Regions from separate parts of the Homo sapiens genome. Here region 2 is linked to region 1. Evidence: promoter capture Hi-C in 16 types of primary human blood cells and fetal thymus (Javierre and others, 2016). All regions are on one chromosome and are shown on one strand. The core of a region is centred on a gene start or on the middle of the fragment in contact, and the rest is flanking DNA. Distances in the headings are between cores, read along the strand shown.

The links. The method cuts DNA at HindIII sites, captures the fragments that hold promoters and counts their contacts. A CHiCAGO score of 5 or more calls a contact.
Region 2: a fragment that was not itself captured here is called in contact with the fragment with the promoter of SPATA20 in region 1 in 1 of 17 cell types (endothelial precursors); the score reaches 5.6 in endothelial precursors.

Annotation. Positions count from the first base shown.
Region 1 is chr17:50,542,855-50,548,423 of GRCh38, reverse strand. SPATA20 (spermatogenesis associated 20) reads right to left here and starts at 1,250. Exons shown (of 17, transcript NM_022827.4): 1 at 1,139-1,250; 2 at 657-704; 3 at 1-141. The coding sequence starts at 1,215. It overlaps EPN3 (epsin 3), which reads right to left. Exons shown (of 10, transcript NM_017957.3): 10 at 4,674-5,569. RefSeq lists a silencer at 971-1,240 and an enhancer at 4,868-5,368. The HindIII fragment of the contact is 19,639 bases long and covers 1-5,569 here.
Region 2 is chr17:50,588,924-50,594,948 of GRCh38, reverse strand. It overlaps CACNA1G (calcium voltage-gated channel subunit alpha1 G), which reads right to left. Exons shown (of 38, transcript NM_018896.5): 10 at 4,327-4,478; 11 at 3,329-3,514; 12 at 3,096-3,210; 13 at 2,857-3,012. Among named protein-coding and RNA genes, the nearest start is that of CACNA1G-AS1, 30 kb to the right of the region's middle. RefSeq lists an enhancer at 1,247-2,055. The HindIII fragment of the contact is 1,953 bases long and covers 2,632-4,584 here.

The sequences.
Region 1 (5,569 bases), core at 1-2,500:
AGGTATGGTGACTTCTCGTGGATCAGGCGGTTGGGGACCCTCTGGGGTGTAGATGAAGGATGGCTTCCTTTCCCTCCAGCAGGCATGGGCACTGAACTACTGACCGTCGCACTTCGGTCCTTGTCCCGGGAGGAGCTACCCCTGGCGAGGACTGGTGCATCAGGCAAGCCAGGGGCCTCCACCCACCTTCTCCCAGGCCCCCCAGCACCTGCTCCATTTCACTCAGCACCCCAGTAGGACCCCTGCTCCCAGCCCAACCCACCTTTCTGAACCATGGGGGAGACTGTGGCCTTTGTGCTCCCCCTTATGTTTTTTGGGGGGTGAGGAGAGGTGGCTCATTGGGGGCTCCTTGCCAGGTTAGTCTCCCCCAACCTCCTGGGCCTGGCGGTGGGAAGGATGGCTGTGAGGTCAGGGCGGGTCACAATGGGCAGAATGGTTCTTGGGGCTCCATTCTTACCCCTCCCCAGGCCCCTCCCCCGGCCCTTCCTGGAGCAGCTGCTTGGAGGCATCTCTCTGGCAGGCCTGGGTGTGGCCCCACTGGAAGGCAGCCTACTGTTGGTGGCTGGACAGGCCAAGATCAGTAGGGTCTGGGACTCGACCAGGTGAGGGACAAACAGAGGAAACCAGACATGGGGACTCCCTCACTCAGCGCCCACCTGCTGGGACTCCTGTGGGGCCAGGTCCTGGGCCAGACTCCAGGACACCTAGGGAATCAGAGACCTCAGGGAGTTCAGCCTGGAAGTGGGACTGCAGGCAGACCTAAATAACGAAAGGTCCATGCAGCAATAAAGGACTGTGACAGGGCACAGGGTACTATTGGAGAAAGGCCCTTGACCCAGCATCCAGCACTGGGGTGCAAGGAAGGCTTCCTGGAAGCAGTGTCAGAACAGTCCCTGAGGAGCTGGCACTGCACTGGAAGGAAGGGGAGAGGAGGGAAGGGATGAGGACGGGAGAGGAGGGGAGGAGGGCCTTACAGCCAGAGCCAGGTCTCAGGAGCAGACCGGAGGTGGGGTGGGGGAAGGGCCAGGCATGCAGGGGTGGTCCAGACTGGCACTGGGGACCGGTGTCCGGAAGACCCTCCACTGGGCCCGCAGGCAGGCGCAGGGAGTGCCCTAGGGGCCCGCTCGCCCGCCCGTACCTGCGGCTCGCGGCGAGGCCTGCACCGGCGCGGGGCAGCAGAAGGACGCGGCCCAACCAGGCCCGCGCGCCCAGCATGGCTGCTCGGGGCCGTGGGCCCGGCCGCTGAGGACAGGAAGGGAAGTCAGGAGGCTGCGAGGGGCGGGCCGGGCACCTACGGAGCCGCGGGCGGGTCTTCGCCGGGACTTGGGACAGTGTGGCTGGTCTCCGAGCGTCGCCCTGCGGCGGAGCGCAGAATTGCAGATCAGGCACCCGAGCCTTGGGAGGACCCATTCTGTGCATAAAACTGGGCTCTGCCCCTGCCTGGGGAGGACAGCCCTTCTCAAGGGAATAGGGAGAGTTGTGGGATCTAGGGCTGGGAGATGCTAGGGACATGGGATGCCAGAGCTTCAGCTCATTTTGTCCAACCCCTGCCCATTTTACAAATGAGAAATGAGATCCAAGGCGAAGGCGTACCTTGGCCAGGTCCACCAGCTAACAAGGTTTGCTTTTTGCAGCCTCCTCGTCTCTAGGTCCTACTCAAATCCTACCCACTCCAGGAAGTCTTCCTTAAATAATACTGATGAGCCCATTTTATGTCTCATAGGTTACACATGGCCTCATTGGCTACATTCAGCCAATATTTATTAAGTGCCTGCCGCCTGCCACTCTGCAAGGCACTGAGTATACAATGGTGGGCAGAGAGAAACAAGGCTCCTGCCCTCACATGGCTCACAGTCTGTTGAGAGCGGCAGATGCTAATTCGACAGCCATACCGATAAACACCCACGTGACAAGTCCGTGAGGGTATAACGTAACAAGTGACCTGATCTGGTGGAAGGGGCAAAGGATGAAGGCTTCCCTGAGGAAATCACATTTGTGAAGCCATGGAGAACGAGAGAAAGGAACTTGGAGGGTGCTCAGGGGGAGTGCTGGGGAAGGAGGCAGAGGTACAGTTTGTGCAAAGGTCCCGTGGCTTGTCAGTGAGTCCGGGCTGAGCAACTGCAGAAAGAGGGAAGACAGGCAGTAGATGAGGGCAGAGGCAAGATCTTGGAGACACTCGTGAACTGTAAGAAGGGGATTTTTATTTTTTGAGACAGAGTCTCGCTCTGTCACCCAGGCTGGAGTGCAGTGGTGTGATCTCGGCTCACTGCAACCTCCGCATCCTGGGTTCAAGGCTGGTCTCGAACTCCTGACCTCAGGTGATCCATCTGCCTTGGCCTCCCAAAGTGCTGGGATTACAGGCATGAGCCACCATACCCGACCCCATTTTTTTTTAGCCAGAGTCTCACTCTGTTGCCCAGGCTGGAGTGCAGTGGATCTTGGCTCTCTGCAACCTCCACCTCCTAGGTTTAAGCGATTCTTGTGCCTCAGCCTTCCAAGTAGCTGGGACTACAGGAGCGCGCCACCATGCCCAGCTAATTTTTGTATTTTTAGTAGAGACGGGGTTTCGCCATGTTGCCTAGGCTGGTCTCAAACTCCTGACCTCAAGCGATCCATCTGCCTCAGCCTCCGAAGTGCTGGGATTACAGGTGTGAGCCACCGTGCCTGGCCAGAGAAGGGGATTTTTGATGACAGTAGAAGCAAGCTATTGAAAGGCTTTAGTCAGGAGGGTTACCAGTTAGATCTGCGTTTTGGAAAGATCCCACCAGCTTCCCAGTGGAGAATGAACTGGAAAGGGGCAAGAGTGAAAGCAGGGGCAGATAGGAGGCTATAGCAGCACCCAGGGGGAGATGGGGGAGCAGAGATGCAGAGAAAGGGATGGGCTGGAAGTCGGTCAAGGAGGAAACGTCGTCAGGATGGGCGGCGACAAAGAAGGCGGTGTCCAGGGTGACTTGCAAGGTGGGGCCGTTCCCTCAAGAGAGGGCATGGGGTGGGGGTGGGGGGACAACTCATGGGGTTCATTGTGGGACCTGTGGGTTTGAGATGTGCACATGGAGGCAGAGATGACACTGCTTGGAGGACAGAGGAGAGGCTTCAGGAGAGAGGATTGGGGGTCTTGACTGTTGAGACCATGTGGGTGTGGAGCTGATCCAGGGAGACCATGCAGAGGAGCAGAGAAGAGGGCTCAGGTCCAGGCTTAAGTAAGCCTGTGAAAGACACAGATGGAGGCAGGGCATGGTGGCTCACGCCTGTAATCCCAGCACTTTGGGAGGCCGAGGAGGGTGGATCACCTGAGGTCAGGAGTTTTAGACCAACCTGACCAACATGGAGAAACCCCCATCTCTACTAAAAATACAAAATTAGCCGGGCATGGTGGCGCATGCCTGTAATCCTTGCTACTCGGGAGGCTGAGGCAGGAGAATCGCTTGAACCCGGGAGGCGGAGGTTGCGGTGAGCCGAGATTTCATGATTGCACCCCAGCCTGGGCAACAAGAGCGAAACTCTGTCTCAAAAAAAGAAGAAAGAAAGAAAGAAAGAAAGACACAGAAGGGAAGCAGCCAGGGTGCAAAGGACAGCACCCCAGAGATGAAGGACAGAGTGCCTACATGTCAGACTCCTGAGGGGCCAGCCTGGCTGGGACAGAAAAATGTCCACTGGCTTCAGCAACATGGAGGCCATTGGTGTGCTTAGTGGGCGTCGTTCTAGTGAAGTCAGGCTGAGAGCAGAAGTTGCCGAGTCGGCTGAGGAGGAAGAGGAAAGGGAGGGGAGACAGAGAGAGATGATGGGTGCTTGACATGAGAGGATAGATGGGAAGACACTGTCAAGATGGATGGAGCTAATTAAGACACATTTCGATGGGAAGGATTCGTTTGAGAGAAAGTGGTGGACGCCATCAAGGATAGAAGAGATGGTGGTCCTGGGTGACTCTGAGAATGTGGGGTGTGGCGGGTTGTTGGAAGGGTTGGCTAGCCGGAGGGTCCAGTGGGTGCTCCAAAGAACATGTTCTGGCTAGAAGGAATGAGGTTAAGCTCAGAGAGCCAGAAGCCTGCCTTGAATGTAGAGGAATCTGGGGTGATGACAAACCTCCAAGTGTGACCATGGTGAGGGTCATTGAGAGGTCAAGGGGCCATAAGGTCCTTGGATAATGGAGCGACTTGAAATTGAGGTAAGAGCTGGATGAGAAGACCATGAGCCAAGACCGAAGCATCCCAAAAGTGAGGTGGAGTGGCAGCCCCAGGCAGGGAAGAGACAGAATGACTTATGGCACCAACCTCCTAGCAGGAGGGGTCTTATAAGGAGGGAGGCAGGAAGCAAGGCTGCCAACTTTTTTTGTGGGAAACAAAACAGCTCCCCTTGGGAGTCCTCGGGGGGATCCAGTTTAGAAGAAGAGAGCCTGGGTGGCAGGGCCACAAAGGGTGGATCAGGGGCCAAGAAGGATGGAACATCCCAGGTTTGGGTGCAGCAGAAGATATTAATAGATGGGTGCTGGACTCTGGGTATTGCCTGGCAAAACCAGGAGTGAAAGCCATGATGGGTTCGTGCCTCATGGTCAGTCTTTGAAGAGGGTGGACTCTGAGCTGAATGGACACGCCTGGGGACATCCACATAGTAACCTCACAAGGAAGAAACTTCTGATCCCGTTTGACAAGTAAGGAAACGCAGGCACAGAGACATGGAGAGGGTAAGTAATTTACTCAAGGTCACAGAGCATAACCACTTATTACTAAGTGATTCTTGTTAGGGTCAAACCTTGGAGCAGAACTTTGAACCCTGTAAGTCTGACTCCTGAGCAGGTGTTCTTGTCCATCCTGTTTGTAACTGCATTGTGGGACTCCCTTCCCCTACCCCCACCTCAGGAAGGGGAGTGGCATTGTGCCTCTCCACTCACCGACTCTGGTGGAAGGCCATTTGTCCCTGAAAGGGGGATGGAGGCTGGCTGCAGGCTGCCTGCAGAGCCAGACCCCAAGCACTGAGGACACATCAGTGTCCAGTGGTCCAGTGATCAGGGAGCATTGAGAAGAAAAACAGGCGAGGGTGGTCATAGGGGCCCCTCCTGGATTGAGTACCAGGCCTCACCCCACCCTTGGTTTCCCAGACTCCACATAAACCCCCAGAAGGGGTCCGATTCCTCCTGTGTGGCTAAGACTGAGTTTCTCGCTAGCCTTGGCGAAGCAAGGGAGAGGGCAGAGTTACATTTAAGGTGACTCAGTAAAACAAAGGAGCCTGGGAGCTCCTGCACTTGGCTTCTGCCACAGCCGCATCACGTGCCCCTGGCTTGTCTACCCTGCTGCGCTCGAGCTCCTGGAGGTTGGATCCCTCCAAGGTGAGCCCAGCACTTTGTCCACAGCAGTCAGTCAATATTTGCTGAATTAAATCTGGGGCCCAGCCTGGGATCTCCAGGCCTTGGAGCCAGACTGTCTGACTCTTGAGTTCCAGCCCCGCCCCATGCCAGCTTTGTGACTTTGAGCATGCCATTCAACCTCTCTGAGCCACGGTTTCCTTGCCTGAAAAATGGGAGTAGTGCCGGCTGCAAGGTGAGATACCTGTGCAATCGCACTGCAGTGGGCTT
Region 2 (6,025 bases), core at 2,359-4,858, 44 kb before region 1:
GCTCGGGGCCTTCAGATATCGGCAGTGTCGAGAGAGGATGAAGAAAAGGAGGGGCGCAAACCCCACAGCAGGGGAACTGAGAGACACGGGGAATGGGGGGGCAGAGAGGGGACAGAACAGCCTTCCAGAATTCAACTACAGGCCCTCAGGCCAGAATGAATCTGAAGGGTGAGTGCAGAGGCCAAAAAGATGGGGACAAGGGCAGGTCCCCCCATAATCCTAATAATAACAGCCACCATTCATTAAGGGTGTGCCTGGCATGGGAAACTGCCTCCTTAACACCAGCTGGCTTCCTTGCAAGGTAGGAAGTGGGTTCCAGGATCGCCATCTTACACAAGAGAAACCCGAGATTTGGAGAAGTTGCGGAAACTGCCCCAAATCATACAGAGTAAGAGGTGGATCTGGGCCTGGAACCCGAGTCTGTGGCTCAGAACACCACTCTCCTCTCACCGGTTCGGAGGCAGTGGGCTTGGGGAATGGGTAGGAAGCAAGGAAAGGAATGGACGAAAGTCAGAGTCAACACGGAGCCAAGTCAGGCCTCATAACGTCTCATGCTCTCAGCTTAAGTCCCTTCAGATCAGAACAGATCCAGCTGCTCCGTTTGAGATGGGATGTGACAAGTAATGCTGAGATGATGGCTCTGATGTTATTTAGTATCAATTAATGGCCTCACACAGGGCCTGCTGCCTGTTCATTTAATTAAGTGTGTGAATGATAAATACACAGGGATTCAGGGCGCTGCCCCCTGCAAGTCAGGAAATCACCAGCCAAGCAGGCTGTGTCCCTGGACCACCCCCTCCTAGCTCTTGGCAAGGTAGCAAGGCCAGCAGGGGGGCTACCCTTGAAGCCTCCTGCTGGGGAAGCCCACCAAAATGGGGGCAGCCACTTCCTCTGCCAAGGTGGGTTGTCTTATTTGTCAAAATAAAAACAAAAATCCCAGGCCACCACAACAGCAAAACCAGACTCCCCTGCCAGACCGTGGGGCCCCCTGAAACCTTACCCAGGAGAGGGCAGGTGCCTTGGAGTTGTCCAGGCCATGGGCATCGAAGGACACTCCCCAGCCCTGCCCACCACATGCAGGACAGGGGAGCAACTGGCCCAGCCCCTCCCATGGGCACTCCGGGGCCACAGTCACTGCCCACTCCCATGGAGAGGGGATGTTCTTAAAGTCCTTTCTCCATCCCACCCCAGGCCTGAAGCATCCCAGCCCAAGACACCGCATCCTGAGTGAGACCCTCCCTGCAAAGGTCCTGATACTGCGAAGGTTGGGGAGGGTGTGGCTGCGTGGGCCTTGTTGAGCCCTCACACTGGGGCAGTCCCAGGCCCCCAGCAGGGCCAGAGTGACCAGGCCGCCCCAGGGCCAGGCTGCGCTCATTCCCACACTCTGGCTTTGCTGTTGCCTAGCAACCAGGCCGCTCAGCTGCACTCAAGTTAACAAGGTGTTTGCTGAAAGGGCTGAGTGCTGGGGAGGGGGCCATCTGTGCTGGGCACCTCCAGACTGCCTTGGCGGCTGAGTGGCAGAGGAGGGGAGGGGAATAGGCCCGCGGTGTTTTCCATTTCCCTCCACAGAGTTGCACGGGAATTTTTCTGAGGGAACCGTGGCTGGCAGGAGCTGCCTTCAGAAGGGGCCAGGGGGCCCGGTCCTCACTCAGCTCCTCCTCTTATAGACCCTGAGCAGCAGCAGAGTGAGTCTACTGGCTCTTGTGGGAGTACTGTGGTGCCCCTTAATTCTTCAGGCCTCAGGGAACCCCCAAATTAGTGTCCCATTCCAGGGAGCATACCGGCGTCCCTCCCTCCTTCCCTGCAAGAGGCACAGCCATCACCAAAGCCTCCCCCACCAGCTGCCCTGGCTGCCCCACAGGAGGGAGGAAATGCGATAACGGATAACTACAGACTGAAAAGGGTAGCGGGGAGAAAGACCAGTGTGGGACAGATACGCTGCACCCCACCAACCCAGCCGGCCCACAGGGAAAAGCCCTCCCTTGAAAGACTGGGAAAGAGTCGGAAAATAGATTTTTGTTTTTCCACCGTGTGCCAGGTATTTATAGACCAGGCCGCAGCGGGAGTTTCCATCCGGGTCACCCAGAGAGAACTGGACCAAGAGCTTCTCCAGACCCAACCTGGAGCGTTTCTAGGTTGGGTCAAACTGCCCTGTTTGAAGCCCCAGCAAGCTGGGGTGGGTCTGGGGGCTCGGGTGGGAAGAGAGGCAGAGCTGAGGGAGAGGAGGGGGTGCAGCCCTCTGGGCAGAGGCTGCTCGCTGACATGGCAAGGGCAGGATCAATGTAAATCAATATTAATTGATGACGCTGCCTGTGACGAAGGTGATGGAGCCTGGGCTGGAAATAGGACGCTCATCTCTGCCATGCCCGTAGCTAATTGGGCTCATTTCTCACCCTGGGCAGCTCAGCCCTGCTCTGGTCTTAGTGGCATCTTCATCTGCTCAGTCAGAGCTCAGATAACTTGCACACAAGCCTCCTGCACCCCTCGGCTCAGAGGGGTCCTCTCCGGGTGTTCCATAGAGCACTGTGCTCAGGAGTCCAGCTGCACCACAGGCAGACACTTATCTGGTCTGCCTCTCTGGGGAAGGGGTCTAGCCAACTCTGAAGGGGATGTCTACTCGGTAGCTAAGCTTTGGTGGAGGGACCCCAAACAACCACCCTGTGTCCCATGTGATGAGGGGCTGCACGAGATCTGGAGCCTCCCGCCCTGGTCCACCCCGGCTTAGTCTAAGAGGCTCTTCCTGTGGGACTTCCCAGGCCCCCAAAGTTGGCAACAGAGGGAGGAGGCTCAAGACAGGCAGCCAATTGGAAGTGGGACTGCTGTGGGCAGGGTGAGGTGGGCAGAGCAGTGGGTTACCTCCGCCTGGAAGCCCTCCACCAGAATGGCGACCAGCAAATTGAAGAGCACGTAGTTGCCGAAGGTCATGAGGGCAATGAAATAAAGGGCCGCCCAGGACGACGTGGAGGCCATACCATTGTAGAGGACTTTGTTCCAGTCCTCCTGGGTCAGGATCTGCGGGCAGAAGACAGGAATCAGGGCCTATACTAGGGGCACCTGACGGCCCCTGTCCACGCCCTGCCCTGTTACCCTCGCACCTGAAAGACAGTGACGATGGCCCAGAGCAAGGAGTCAAAATTCTTCCGGTCTGGCAGGGTGTCCCCATCCCGCTCAGAGGCAAACTTGCAGCCGAAGAGATGCATGCCCAGGATGCTGTGGGCACAAGGGGGCCACAAGCTAGGGATCAGAGCCCAGTGCTCCTCACCCCTCAGGCCCTCCTGCCCCCAGCCTGGCCGGTCTCTCAGCCGGCAAGGTGCCATGCCGCCCTCACCTGAAGATGAAGATGAAGAGCATAAGCAGCATGCAGAAGGTGGCCACGTTGTCCATGGTCTTCATGAGCACCACCAGCTGCCGCTGCAGCGCCGGCAGGAAGCGCACCAGCTTCAGCACACGCATCAGGCGGAAGGTCCGCAGCACCGACAGGCCGCCCCCCTGCTGGCCCACGATCTCCCACACGCTGCAAAGGGGGCAGGCAGCCTGAGCCCCCTGCACCTTCACCCTCTCCCCCTACTCCCTCGGAGAGGACTCAGTAGCACCCAAGGGCCTGGCTGGGTGGGCACGTCGAGAGAAAATGGGGCACAGGTGGGCCCCCAGACCTCTAAGCAGGAGCCTCCAAGATAGTGAGGATTTGGGTGACAGCCCCGGCCCCCTCCGCCCTCTCCTCCCTGCCAGAGATCACATCCTGGCAGTAGACAACTCCCTCCCTAAATCTGGCCAATGCAACTGCATCAAGTTATGGAATATTTGCTTTGTTCTCTTCTAATGAAATCTAAAGCCAATTCCAAAAGCAATAAAGTGGTTCTCCTGGCCCCAGGCCTTGCGGGGACGGAGCACTTTCCCAAGGTCTTGGAAACCCTAAAGCAAGTTGCTGGTGTCTGAGATGATTTCCAAGCACTTTTCGAGCCGGGCAGCTGGCTGGGCCTCATACCTCTTCCAACTCCTCTAAAGCCAATCTCACCCTCGCCCATCCCAGGCCTGGGTGGGGTCAAGGACAAGAGGTAGAAGTGGAGAGAGGAGACTAAAGAGGGGCCTGGGCAATGAAGAGGTGAGCCCAAGGTCAACAGGAGCAAGGTGGGGCCAAGAGAGAGATGGAGGGGGCATGGGGACACAGAGAGCCCCCCACCTAGGAGGAGTGGCAGGTCCTGTGGGGTCAGTGGGGCCTGACTCCAGACCCCTCCACCCCAGGGGAATAGGTGGCATGGCCCCTGGCCCCAAGCCACCCCTGCTACCATTCCTCAACTGAGAGTCAGTGCCGGGGGGTAGTCATACCTGATGACCACAATGACACCATCGAAGATGTTGTAGGGATTCTTGATGTAGCCAAAGGGACCATACACAAGCAGCTTCAGCAGCATCTCCAGGGCAAAGAGGCTGGTGAAGACGATGTTGCTGATTTCTAGGGCGTTGGTAAGCTCCTCGGGCTGCAGGGCAGGGTGGGATGTGAGGCAGCTGGCTTATCACTGAGCCCCTCGATCCAGTCCTCCAAACATGGGACACCAGGGAGAGGAGGAGCAGGAATAGCAAGCTTGTGCGGAGGGGTTGCTGGATGCTCAGGCCCATGGGGAGGACCCTGCCCCAAAGGCTCCAGGAGGAAATGCACCCAGGGGCAGGGGCCCCAGGAAAGGGCCACGTGAAACCCATAGCCCCAGCTCTGGGTCTCAGATTCAGGGGCCACAAACTCAATGGGAGGCCTGTGGTGTGGGTTCCGCCCTATCTCCTGCTGGGAGCTGCATGGCCCATCTTGACCTAGGCTACAATGCAAGCCTAGCGGGCCCAGGCCAGCAGCATGACAATGCTGGCGGATGTCAGAGGGCGATCGCCAAGGCCTCACAGGCACACCCGGTCGTCAAGCCCCACACAACGTCACATGTATTCCACAATTACTCTGTGGACTTGGCAGCTTTCTCTTGGACAACAGTTGGCTACTCTTGCTTCCTTCCAGACACACACACACACACACACACACACACACACACACAGAGAGAGAGAGAGAGAGAAAAATGCACGCATTCCCAGTCACACACATGGTGATAGGCAGAAGGAAGACACGCAGACACCCAGGAAGGGTTGTCACAGTTGAGGAGACACCTGGAGCCTCAGCCTGAGCCCGGGACACCCGGGTTAATCCTCAGCCTATCCTGTCACTCACTCTGTGACCTTCAGCAAGATTCTCAACCTCTCTGGCCAAATGTGAAACACCAGAGGTAATTCCTTTCATGCTCCCTACCCGAGTCTGGGACTGGGACTGAGGATGCACCCTAGAGTCCTCAGAAGGACGAATGACGAACCCTGTCTCATCTGCCATTCCAGCTCACTAGTGACCTCGCTTTCAATATGAAGTGCCTAGCAATGCACCAGGCATTAAAGGAGCTGCAAAAACATGCCAGCCACACGCCCCGCCTCCCAGGAGCTCAGTGTCTGCTAGAAACACGTTGTACACACACAAAACGGCTGAATAACCACAAGAGGCCTTAAATGCTTCAGTGCCAAAATAAATTATCCAGGCAGCAAGTCCGGGAGTTCAGGGGAGAAAAGGTGAGGGGTGAACACACAGAGAAAGGCTTAGTTGGGAGAGAGGCAGCACTTGAATGCCTAAGGGTTTGTGGAGTCTCCCCAGCCAAGGGTCTAGGTGGTGTGGCACGGGGTGGGGGGATCATGAGCAACCTCAGCCTGGTTCTGGTTGAAGAAGGGAGGGGTGTGGCCAGGCAGAGGGCTGGGGAAGCAAGAAGAGATATGGTTGGCTCAATGGACCCCACTGTCCACCTGATGGATGTCTGGACAAACTAGGTGTCTGGCCTGGAGGGCAGAGGCCAAGTCCATAGTAGCTGCTCAAAAAGTATGGGTTAATGAAACATTCAAATGAGGCACTCATTCCATCAGACACCTCTCCTTGCTTCTCACTGTCTCGCTGGCCAGCTGCCCAACCAAGCCTGCAGCCAGGCCTGAGGACACCCAAATGTATCCTAAT